Regions from separate parts of the Homo sapiens genome. Here region 1 is linked to region 2. Evidence: promoter capture Hi-C in human tissues and cell types (Jung and others, 2019). All regions are on one chromosome and are shown on one strand. The core of a region is centred on a gene start or on the middle of the fragment in contact, and the rest is flanking DNA. Distances in the headings are between cores, read along the strand shown. Region 1 has its middle 13 kb from the start of MIR4788. Region 2 holds the start of AMOTL2 (angiomotin like 2).

Region 1 (5,478 bases), core at 880-3,379, 49 kb after region 2:
TTCCCCTTGGTAATCAGGATCAGTCATCCTAGCCTGTAAAGTAACCCCTTTTTCTGCCTGCTGGCTCAGTAGCACAAGGATCCCCAAATGGCCACATGGCAGTCCCATCTTCCATTCTAATGGAATCAGTGTTTGTGTCTCCTGGTAGAGTGCCCTCCCTTTGGGGACTAAGACCTCCAAACCAGCAGGGCTCTAAGTTGGGATGGGAAGCAACATTGCTGATGGATTATTGGCTGTAATAGTGAGAGGAGTCACTCATACTTCTGCCCTTGATTCCCAGACTTCAGTATCTTGGCTATGGGGAAAGCAGCATCATATACTCGTTGTTGAGTCAAAGCCTATGCTGGGTGTTTTCTCCCAACTGGAGCTGTGACTGGGTTTTCAGCAGGCCCTTCCACTATCCTATCTGGCCTGCTGCTTCTGGGTGATGGGGCATGTGGTAAGACCAGTGAATCCCAAGGGCACAAAGCCTTTGCTATACTTCTTTTGTTGTCAAGTAAGTTCTTTCTATAGCTAGTGATACAGTTTGGATATTTGTCCCCACCAAATCTCATGTTGTAATGTAATACCCAGTGTTGGAGGAGGGACCTGGTGGGAGATGATTGGATCATGTGGGTGGATTTCTCATCAATGGGCTAGCACCATCCCCCTGGTGTTGTCCTCACAATAGAGAATGATTTCTAGCAAGATCAGGTTGTTTAAAAGTGTGTGGCACTCTCCCCCTCTCCTTCTCTTGCTCCTGCTCTCTCCATGTGAGACACCTGCTCCCCTTTCCCCTTCTGCCATTACTGGAAGCTTCCTGAGGTCCCCCTAGAAACTGAGCAGATGCCAGCACCATGCTTCCTGTAAAGCCTGCAGAACCATAGGCCAAGTAAACCTCTTTCTGTATAAATTACCTAGCCTGAGATGTTTATTTATAGCAACATAAGAATGGCCTAATACACCTGGGTTCTTAAGAAGATGAATAGAAAAGCTGGAGGGTGGGGTGGAAATCATGAGGTTGTGTCCCACTTCCTGCAAGAAAAAGCCTATGTCCCTTGATCCTACATTCAAGGCCCTTTCTCTCCCAGAAAAGCCATCCTTTCTAGCCCTGGCCACTTTCCCTGTACTAATTAATCTCACTTCTGCCTGTGGACACCTCTGCTCTCAGGACTACTGTCTCCTGGGCCTCACTGCCACTACCTCTGCCTCTGTGTGAAGCCCCTTCCCAGGTGTGTCTGGGCCCCTCTCCTCTCAGCCTGCACCCAGGAAGCTGTTTCCTCTCCCCAGACAGTGGACGTCTCCCTGGCAAGCCTCTGCAGCCCTGAACTGTCCTGACCTTCAGGGTCCAGTTCTTGGAAGGCTCAGGACTGCCATTTGAATTGGGATTATCCCTGGGAGCCCAAACATCTGGTCATCTCCAGAAGGCCACTCACTCTGGGGCAAGGATGGAGCTAGCAGTATGTCAACTGTGATGTGGGGTGTCACATCTGGCTCTGTCCCATCTGCCTGGCTGGGGTTTGCCCCTACGGAGGGTGTTTTGTGTTGCCTGATGGAAGAGGGATGTCCACCAACCAGGCTCAGAGCAGCATCAGGCCCCCCCTGATGTGGGTGTCAGATTACAGCCACAACAGATGGCATTGGCTCAGCTCCCAGGGATCCCCAGTCCACAATGCAAGTCACCTAATCCCTAGTCTGCCATGCAAAGCAAAGGTGGAGCAGAGGGCAAGGGTGGGCAGTGAAGGGCACTATTCAAGGGTGCACCCATCAGGTGTGGGCGAGAGGTGTGTTCCCCAAGGAAGCTGCCTCATGCTAAGCACTCTCATGGGGACAGCATCTTCACACTATGCAGGGAGCTGCTGACAGGGCCCTAGACACCAGAGACCCTGCTAAGGATACTGATCCAAGGGAAAAGGCGTCAGTCAGGTTCATTGGCAGAAACATAAGCCATATGGAAGAAAAATGGGCTTGAAAGAAAAATGTAGAGCCAGTTCACTTCTGAAATGGAGAGCAAGGACTATCCAGCATGGGGAAAAAAGCAAGGGAATACACTCAGTTCTGTCTTCTGTCCAGTGCAGTAGAGTGATAAAGAGAGAATGACAGGAAAGGGAAGAGGAGGCAAGAGCTACCTGCAGGGACATGGGGATGGCTTGAGGGAGGCCACCCAGAATGCTTCTGGCCTGGCCCCTGCTCCCCTCTCTGTTGCGTCTTCCTTCCCCATACAATCCCCCTTTGCCCTTGCCTCAATGTTCATCTTTGTCCCCACTGTGGTCAGGCCTCTCTGCCTCTGGTTTAGCCCACCCCAGTTCCACTATGCCCCTGTGTGACAAAGGTCCATATGAACTAGCTGGACTTTGGGCACTATATACAGACGTAGGGGAAAGATGGAATTCAGTGCACAAGTCCTCTGGCTCAGGTCCATGATCACAAAGAAGATCATGTTTTAGCATCTCAGAGTTGCAAGGGATTTCAGCCTTCATCTAGTTGAAGCCTTCATCTTACAGATGAGAAGGCTGGAGCTCAAGGGCTCAGGGACTGCCCCAGATCCTCAGGTCCTGCTGGCACACTCTTCCTCACCACTGCAGAGCATTGGGATCTGTCTAGGGGCAGCTGTAACAGTGGGTATCATCTGCCCTTGCTTCTCAGCATGTCCTTGAACTGCTCTCTCTCTTTGTGGGGAAAGATGGCAGAGAGTCCTGGGTTCAAATCTGATCTCTGACAGTTACTTGCTGAGTGACCTTGAGCAAGACACTTGCCCTCTCGGAGCCCAAACCTCCTCACTCTAAAAAAGAGAACTTACCTTTACAATAGTGTGGTAAAGACCAGATGAAATAATGTTCATGGATAAGGCAGATGACATGGAGGGAAGAAGTGGAAGAAGATCCCTCTCAAAAAAGTTATCATGATGATTTTATTTATCTATTCACTGAATGACTGTTGACTAAACTCTAAACTGCTATGTGCTAGGCTCAGCAGTACATTAGACCTACAGAAATATCATTGTGAATTTACATTCCATTGGAGCAGACAGTTAACAAGTAAATCAGTAGATGCATATATAATCTGACACTCAGAGGTGAAAAGCGTTATGGAAAATGGGACAGAGAGAGGGAGAGAGATTGTAGGAAAGTGCCTGGTAAATTACCGGGCCCCATGTAATTGATTCCTCTTGTTGTATGTTGCCTGGCACTTAGTAGGTGCTCAAAAAATGCTAATTTCTTTCTCTTCTTGCCTATATTTCTTATTTCCATCTTCCCTACGTAACTCAATGCCCATTGCTACTCCCAGGCTTCCCACATCCCCTCTGAGGGCCTCACGGTTCTACCCGGCAATCCACCCTTCTATGCTGCATGCCTTCTCACGCTGTCTCTTGAAGATCCTGGGCCTGGCACTGAGCACTCAGGGACAGTAGGCCCTCTGCCATAGTAAGAAGTGTAGTAATGGCAGGAGGGACGGCAAGGAAGCAAATGCACACCGGGCAGTGCTGAGACATTCCTTTCGGTGTGAGGGCAGGTGCTTCCTTCCTGGGGCCTTGCCCATTCCCTGCCCTCTGGGGAGAGACACAGCTTTCAGTTAAGAAAATGGAAAGATTTTCTGAAAACACCACACCAGCGATCAAGGATCAATCCTCTCTTCCAAAGTTATTTGCAATAATGAAATATAACATCATTAATTTGTTTTACCCACCAGAGAGTATAAAAAAATTTCCCAAATATAAAGAAACCTCTGTGTGTGTGTGTGTGTGTGTGTGTGTATTTTAAAGACAAGGAAAGAAAATTTAAGCTGTACATCATTATTTTTTTTTTTTGAGACAGAGTTTCACTCTTGTTGCCCAGTCTGGAGTGCAATGGTGCGATCTCGGCTCACTGCAACCTCCATCTCCCAGGTTCAAGAGATTCTCCTGCCTCAGCCTCCCGAGTAGCTGGGATTACAGGCGTACACCACCACACCCAGCTAATTTTTGTATTTTTAGTACAGACAGTGTTTCACCATATTGGTCAGGCTAGTCTCAAACTCCTGGCCTCAGGTGATCTGTCCACCTTGGCCTCCCAAAGTGCTGGGATTACAGACGTGAGCCGCCACGCCTGGCTCATCGTATTTGTATATATATGTGCTCTGTCCCATTTTACTCTCTTGCTTAAGTATGGATAGCTCTCGGTGTGAGTTGCTTGTCTAGTCTGTTAAGAGTTCAGGTTAAAGCCAGGTGCAGTGGCTCACACCTATAATCCCCGCACTTTGGGAGGACGAGGTGGAAGGATCTTTGAGCCCAGGAGTTTGAGACCAGCCTGGGCTACATAGTGAGGCCCCATCTCTACAAAAAATAATAAAAAATTTAGCCAGGCATGGTGGCACGTGCCTGTAGTCCCCGTTGCTCAGGAGGAGGTGGGAGGATCGTTTGAGCCTGGGAGGTCAAGGCTACAGTGAGCCATGATAGTGCCACTGCACTCCAGCCTGGGTGACAGAGTGAACCACTGTCCCAAAAACAAACAAACAATAGTTCAAGTTAAGGAATGTCCTTGATTAGCTCCTGCTTGGGGTTTCAGAGGAATAGCTTACTTTGTCTGAGAAGAGCCTAAAGCAGCCTTCCTTCTATGGCAAAGCCTCCCTTTTACCTTTTTCTTCTTTTGGGGGCCCCCTCTAAGCTCTCTCTGAGGCAGGCCCTTAAAACTCATCTCTCAGCAAGGCTGGGTGCTGGCACTGGAGACTACATAGAGGTGATAAGACAGAGACTCCTAACTCAGTAAGCTCACAGGGAGACCTCCCACCTTGGAAAGACAAGGCCTTCTTTCAGGTTCAGCTCACACTTTCACTGCCAGTGTGACCTAGGCCTCAGTTTACCCATTTGTTAAATGAGGAGGCTGGCCTACATTAGCCTTCCTCCGGGTGTCAGTCATGTACAGTAGTCCCATATGATGCTCCAGGGACCATACTTTGGCCAGTAGGTTCGCAAGTCACTGACGCCTGTGGGAGCATCCTGGGAAGCCCACAGGCTGCATTGCACCCAGGTCAAAGCTGGGGCTGCTCACTCTAGCTGGAACACAGAGCCCTTTACTGCTGAGTGCCTGCAGGCAGCCTTCTGGGAAAAGCCAGCTGTGGATTTCTAAAGGACTTTCCCAGGCAAAGATGCCTGGGATAAGAGAAAAACAGGATGGTGAAAGCACCATCCCAGGGATGTGAGGGATGGAGCAGCCTCTCTGACCCGAGACCTGTGGTTGCATCCCTGCCTACACTGAGCTGCTCCAGCTGCATCAGGCCTGACTTTGCAGGCTGGTGGTTAAGTGGGTAGACGGGTCTGGACGCACAGCCACTTCTGGTCATCCACAGCGATGAGCAAGCGGGAGTTTCACTGCGGCTGCCTCTGACACCGTGCTTCATCCCAACCTTTCTCACAGCCTCCCTCAGTGTTTCCAAGATTCCCTGGGGTGAGTGAGACTCATGGTGAAGCTCAGACTCTACCATGGAGGGCAGGCCTGCCTCACCTGGGGGCCTCCCTGAAGG
Region 2 (5,035 bases), core at 757-3,256:
TCAGTCTTTTGTGCTGACAGTAACTGCAAGAGAGCTCCAGGAAAAAGGAAGGATGGCATGATGTCTTTGATTTTATGATTATCCTCCCCAACACACACACACACACACACACACACAAACACACACACACGCTACTTGGAAAAGCCCCCACTGGTCCTCTAGGCACATAAGGGATGGGCACTCAGCATCTTTCTTGACATCAGTGTCAAGGAAGCCCATCTTGACTTGGGCCAACTGGAGAAGTAAGGGGAGGCTGTTGGTTGAGAGACCTGGGGCAGGGGAGAGGGGACTGTGAGCCTAAAGTGCTGGGAGATTATATCGGAGAAAGGAGTTCCCTTCTAAGCCTGGGCTCCCAGTGGTTCATGGACTGGAAATCTGCCTGCCTCTCTCACCCAGCTTCCTTTCCACAGCCTCTTCCAACACAAATCTCCAAACTGGGATCCAGGGAAAACTAAACAGAATCCACACTGCCACAGGTCCTGTGTGTATGGGCAGGGGTTGGGGGGGTGGGTGGGAGGAATGTGGCCCCTCCTCTGCCACTAAACTAGCCCTAGTGTCCTGCTTCAGTTTGGGCTATGGCATGTTGGCAGAGCAGCCATTCCCGATCTTTTCCCTCTCCCCACCCCAGTACTCCAGCTGCCCAGAGCTGGGGAGTGGGGGATGAGTCTGGAGGGCACCTCTGTACCCATCCTTCCTGGCACCCAGTCATGCGCCCCCCACACACAACGAGGGGTAGATGTGCAAGACTCCAGAGCTACCCGAGGCAAAGCAAGCAAATGGGATTCAATTCGTATGGGATTCAGTTCGCCCTGGAGTTTTATCTGCGGGCATTTCCTATGATAATCACTCTCTGGGCCGACTCCCACAGAGAAGGCAGGGGAGCGGCAGGAAGGAATGCGGAGCCTTCCTGACAGATTCCAGGCGCTCCATAGTGTGCCCGGACTGGGAGCAAGGAACATCTCCAAGGCCTCTCATCGCGAATTTGTCCCGGCCAAGCCCCTCAGATTCACGTCCTTTCAGACATCAAACGCCTGGGCCTTTACAAAAACCTGCTTCCGCGCCCCCGGCCGCGAACCTCTGCTGCACTCGCCCGCTGCGCTCTCTGAAGGCCGCCTTTCTAAGCCAGCGCGCGTCTCCAGCCTTGGCCTGGGCTCCTGCTCGCCTAAGGAACCAAAGACAGTCTCCAAGCTAGGAGGTTCTGGCACCCCAGCCAGGGCTCCCGCCCCACCACGAGCCCGGGCGGACCTGGAGCACCGGTGGCCGCTGGTACGCCTGGGGCGAGCCGGTGAGGGTAGCCCGAGGCCCGGAGAGGTCTTTAAGCATCGCGGGTCCGCCTCCCTCCCTCTCGAGCCCTCTTTGTTTTCCAAATACTCTAACGCTGACGTCACCGGGCTGGACAGCAGGCTGCATTCTTTCTAAGTGAGGGCCAATTCGTGGCTCCAGAGAGGATTTTCCAAGGAAGACAAAGAGGAATTCTTGGACTAGTTGGGGGCAAAGGCACCTGTAACCCCCACCTAACCAAATCAGCCCGCAGGACCCTGCAACTTGAGCTCCAAGCGGCGCCTCCATCCCTGTCCCCCGCCACCCCCACCCCCGCCGACCTGCAACCCGAAACACTGTGGCTGTTGTCTCCGGAGTCGGCCCTCTCCCCTCTCCCCCAGCCCCAAGAGACCCGCGCGTTTCTAGAGCCCCGCAAAGCCCAGCGCGCTGCGCTCCCTGGGCAGAGCGGCCCTTGCCAGGCACTGCGGCTGCCTCGAAAGGGCGCACTGCGCCCCGAGGACGCTCGATCCTCGAGGCTCCGACTCCCGGAAAAGGCCGGGTTGCGCCGAGACTCCAGCTTTGGCTGGGGCACGTTTCTGTGGCCTCGCGCGCTCTCCCGAGCGCCGAGCGGCCTTCCTTACCGCTGCGGCCCGAGGGTGCCCAGCGCAGTCAGACACCACAACCTCCGGCTCGGCCCAGCTCAGCTCGGCGGCGAAGATGTGTTCTCGGCCGTGGCGCCGACGCTCTGGCTGTTCGCGCCCCAGCGCGCAGCCCCAGGGTCGGCCCGCGCCGGAGGCGGCTGCTATGCCAGGAATGTGAGAGTTTCAGGTTCCCCCTCGGGATCAAAGCGAACCACAAATAACCTCTCAGCGCACCGCCCTCCTCCGCCCTCCGCCTTCTCCCGCTCCCTCCTCCCGGCCCCCGCCTTCCTCCGGGGAGGCGGCGCTGCTGGCCGAGCGCCGGCCCGGCCCCCGAGCTCCGTTCCTCCGCGCCCAGCGCCCTCCAGGCCGCGGTGTGTCCGCCCCTGCCCCATGCTTTGCCTTCGGAGCTGCTGGAGACAATTTAATCCAACTCTGCCCATTATCGCCTCCACTCCCAGTCGCCGACCCGCTCTCACCCTTCATCCCTAAACCCATCGACGGGACGACAGCAAGGGCTGTACCACGCGTGTCCTGGGGTTGCTGCGGGAGGGGACTCCGGCTGTGTGTGTGTGTGTGTGTGTGTGTGCGTGTGTGTGTACCGGGGGAGGTGGGAAAGGGAGGAGGGACTGCAAAGACATCCATATCCTCTGGGCTGGGACAGTGCCCCGGGCTAAGTGAATGCTTCCAGCCACAGAGCCTCTTTCCCCTAACCCCCGCTGTTTTCACCCCCAGCGGCAACCTTTGAATGCACTTTTGTTTACAAACACCTTCGCCAGCTATTTTACGACCGTCTCGACAGGAAGTGTGAATCTGGGTTGGAAAATCCGGTCAATTTGACCCACCTACCCAACTGAATCACCCGCCGCCAGGCGCTCTGTCCAGTTCTTCCCCAAGGTGATAATAGGCGCCCCTTTACGCAGAGTGCAAGGTGTGCCACCGCTGGCTTTTCGCCCAGTCATCCGATTCAGCCCTGCCAAGCACCCTCCAACGGAGTTCTGTTATCATCCCTGTGTTGTAAATGAGGACACCAGGGCTCAGAGAGCTTAAGCAGCGTGCCCAGAGTCACACACAGTGAGAACCAGGTAATCAACCACTGGGCTGCTTGGTTTCTCATTCTCAAAACCCCTCCCTGGCTATCAGAATCCAGGCTCCCTAGATGGACAGGGCAGACACTGGGAGCCCTCCTCTCTCCACTTACCCTGTCCTTGCTTTAGTCTCTTCTTTACCTCCCCCTACACCCCTGCCAGCCAGGGGCTTTCCCCTGTACCCACTTCTGTGGCTCCTGCATGGAATCCTCTCCTCTGCCCCCAGGACACTTCCACTGCTAGATGGAAACCCCTTCTTCAGAAAGCTCGCTCTGACACATGCTGTCCCCGTTCCCCATCACACAAGCCCTCTCTACAAGTCAGTTGGGGTGAGGTGGGGGCAGTCAGGCCCCTGTCCACCCAGAGAGTCAGGGCTGATTTCTACCCCTGGCTGGGTCCTCCCATCAGCATGGAGTTTGCAAGTCCCAAATTCACTGGAGGGAAACAAGGACAAGGAAATTCTGCAAGCTTAATTGCCAGGGACATTGTTAATTTTTAATAAAACTCACAAAAAGTGTGTGTGTGTGTGCGCACGTGTGTGTTTTACTTGGAAGTCAAATACTGTGTTTCAAACAGTGATTGGATCTGAGATGATTGAGCAAATGGATCATTTGTGCCAAGCTACGGGATATTTGTCTTTCCAAGGATCCCCTTACGAAGAGAAGCTGTGATCAGTATACCACTGTAGGTAGGAATTTTAGAAGTGAAAGGAAAGAGGTCTCTGAGTGGCCTTACCTTATGGACAGCATAATTGGTGGAGGCAGGGGAGTGGTTGTGGACATGTGCACTCGGGTTGTAAAACCAGGGGAAAGACCACATGGTACAGTCCTGTCTTTCAGGCATTTGGGAGGATACCTGACAAAATGTTTGACAAATATTCTTGAGATGGTTGCAGAAAGGCGTCAGTTCAAGGCAGCTAGGGTGAAGGAGGTACATCTTGGAGTGGACAAGCCTGCTGCAGAGCCACACAGGCCCCCATGATTGCTAATTTCTGTCCCCAAAGGGACAGAAGCGGGAGAGGGATCCCAAAACCTAAATGAGAAATGTGCATGTACTTTTATTTTTCCTTTCCCTTTCTCTCTGCAGAAAGAACAGAAGGCAAGATCTGTCAGGCATGGCCTGCGGTGGAGCCTACCTAAGCTGGCGGCCACCCCAGCTCTGCAGGATAGTTGGTGGAGAAGGTGACCACTGTTCAGATGTGCCAGAGGCAGATGTGCACAGGGGACACTGGGCCGGCCAGCCTGCTTGCATATGAATCTTCACCTACAGCAGAGGGGAGAGAGGCTCTCTTAGTGAGCCAATGCTTTCTTCTTCCACCTTTGTCTCAATCTACTTTGTCCCATTCTCCTTTACCTCCTCTCTTCCTCCTACAGGTTATGATTCTTCCCAGATGACAATGTGGCTGGCTGGGTCAGGAATCCTATCCAGGAAAGATGCGGAGGTGACCTAATTCTCAGAGTAAGCCAGGCTGGAGGCCTTTGCTCTAGGAAGTGTAGCTCCTTGGGGTGTGGCTGCATCATAGGTGTGTACAGGGCTTAGCAAGGGATCCAGGCACCCACACCATCGCCTCTCCTTAGCCCCGGTCTGGGTCTGTGCCTGTTTTATGGCCTCAGTCTGGCCCTGCAGCTGCATCCCACTGCACCCAACCAGAACATGAAAGTGAGTTCTTGGTGGGACCCTAGCAGCCTCCTCCCATGGAGCCGGGAAGGAAATGTTCCCCTTACTTCCCAAATGGTTGCTTAGTGGAGGAGAGCTCCAGGGTGCAGGTGGCAAGATCAAAGGATGACTGTTAGTTGTGAAATTCACTTTTCCAGCTTCCCCTGAACACTCCCTCTGACAGGTTATGGAAACAGGAAACCTACCGGAATCTGGAGCATGAAGCAAATTCATAGGAAGAATCTGAACATTAGGATGGAAGTTCCAGTGCTCCAGTTCCAAGAACAGAAGAAGACCCAAGTGGGGGACTTTCTTCTCTTTGTCCTTCTGCAAACCCCTGTCCCCCCTTCACCCCTTTCTCCTCCCCTGCCTTCATCACTGCCTCTAGGTTTT

Evidence for each region. The method cuts DNA at HindIII sites, captures the fragments that hold promoters and counts their contacts. A contact is called where the count stands out against the background at its distance.
Region 1: a fragment that was not itself captured here is called in contact with the fragment with the promoter of AMOTL2 in region 2 in 1 of the 25 tissues and cell types used here (stomach).

Annotation. Positions count from the first base shown.
Region 1 is chr3:134,421,743-134,427,220 of GRCh38, forward strand. No RefSeq gene overlaps it. Among named protein-coding and RNA genes, the nearest start is that of MIR4788, 13 kb to the right of the region's middle. RefSeq lists an enhancer at 5,165-5,478. The HindIII fragment of the contact is 8,360 bases long and covers 1-5,478 here.
Region 2 is chr3:134,372,441-134,377,475 of GRCh38, forward strand. AMOTL2 (angiomotin like 2) reads right to left here and starts at 2,007. Exons shown (of 10, transcript NM_016201.4): 1 at 1,902-2,007. RefSeq lists enhancers at 1,267-2,066, 2,067-2,866, 2,867-3,664. The HindIII fragment of the contact is 13,073 bases long and covers 1-5,035 here.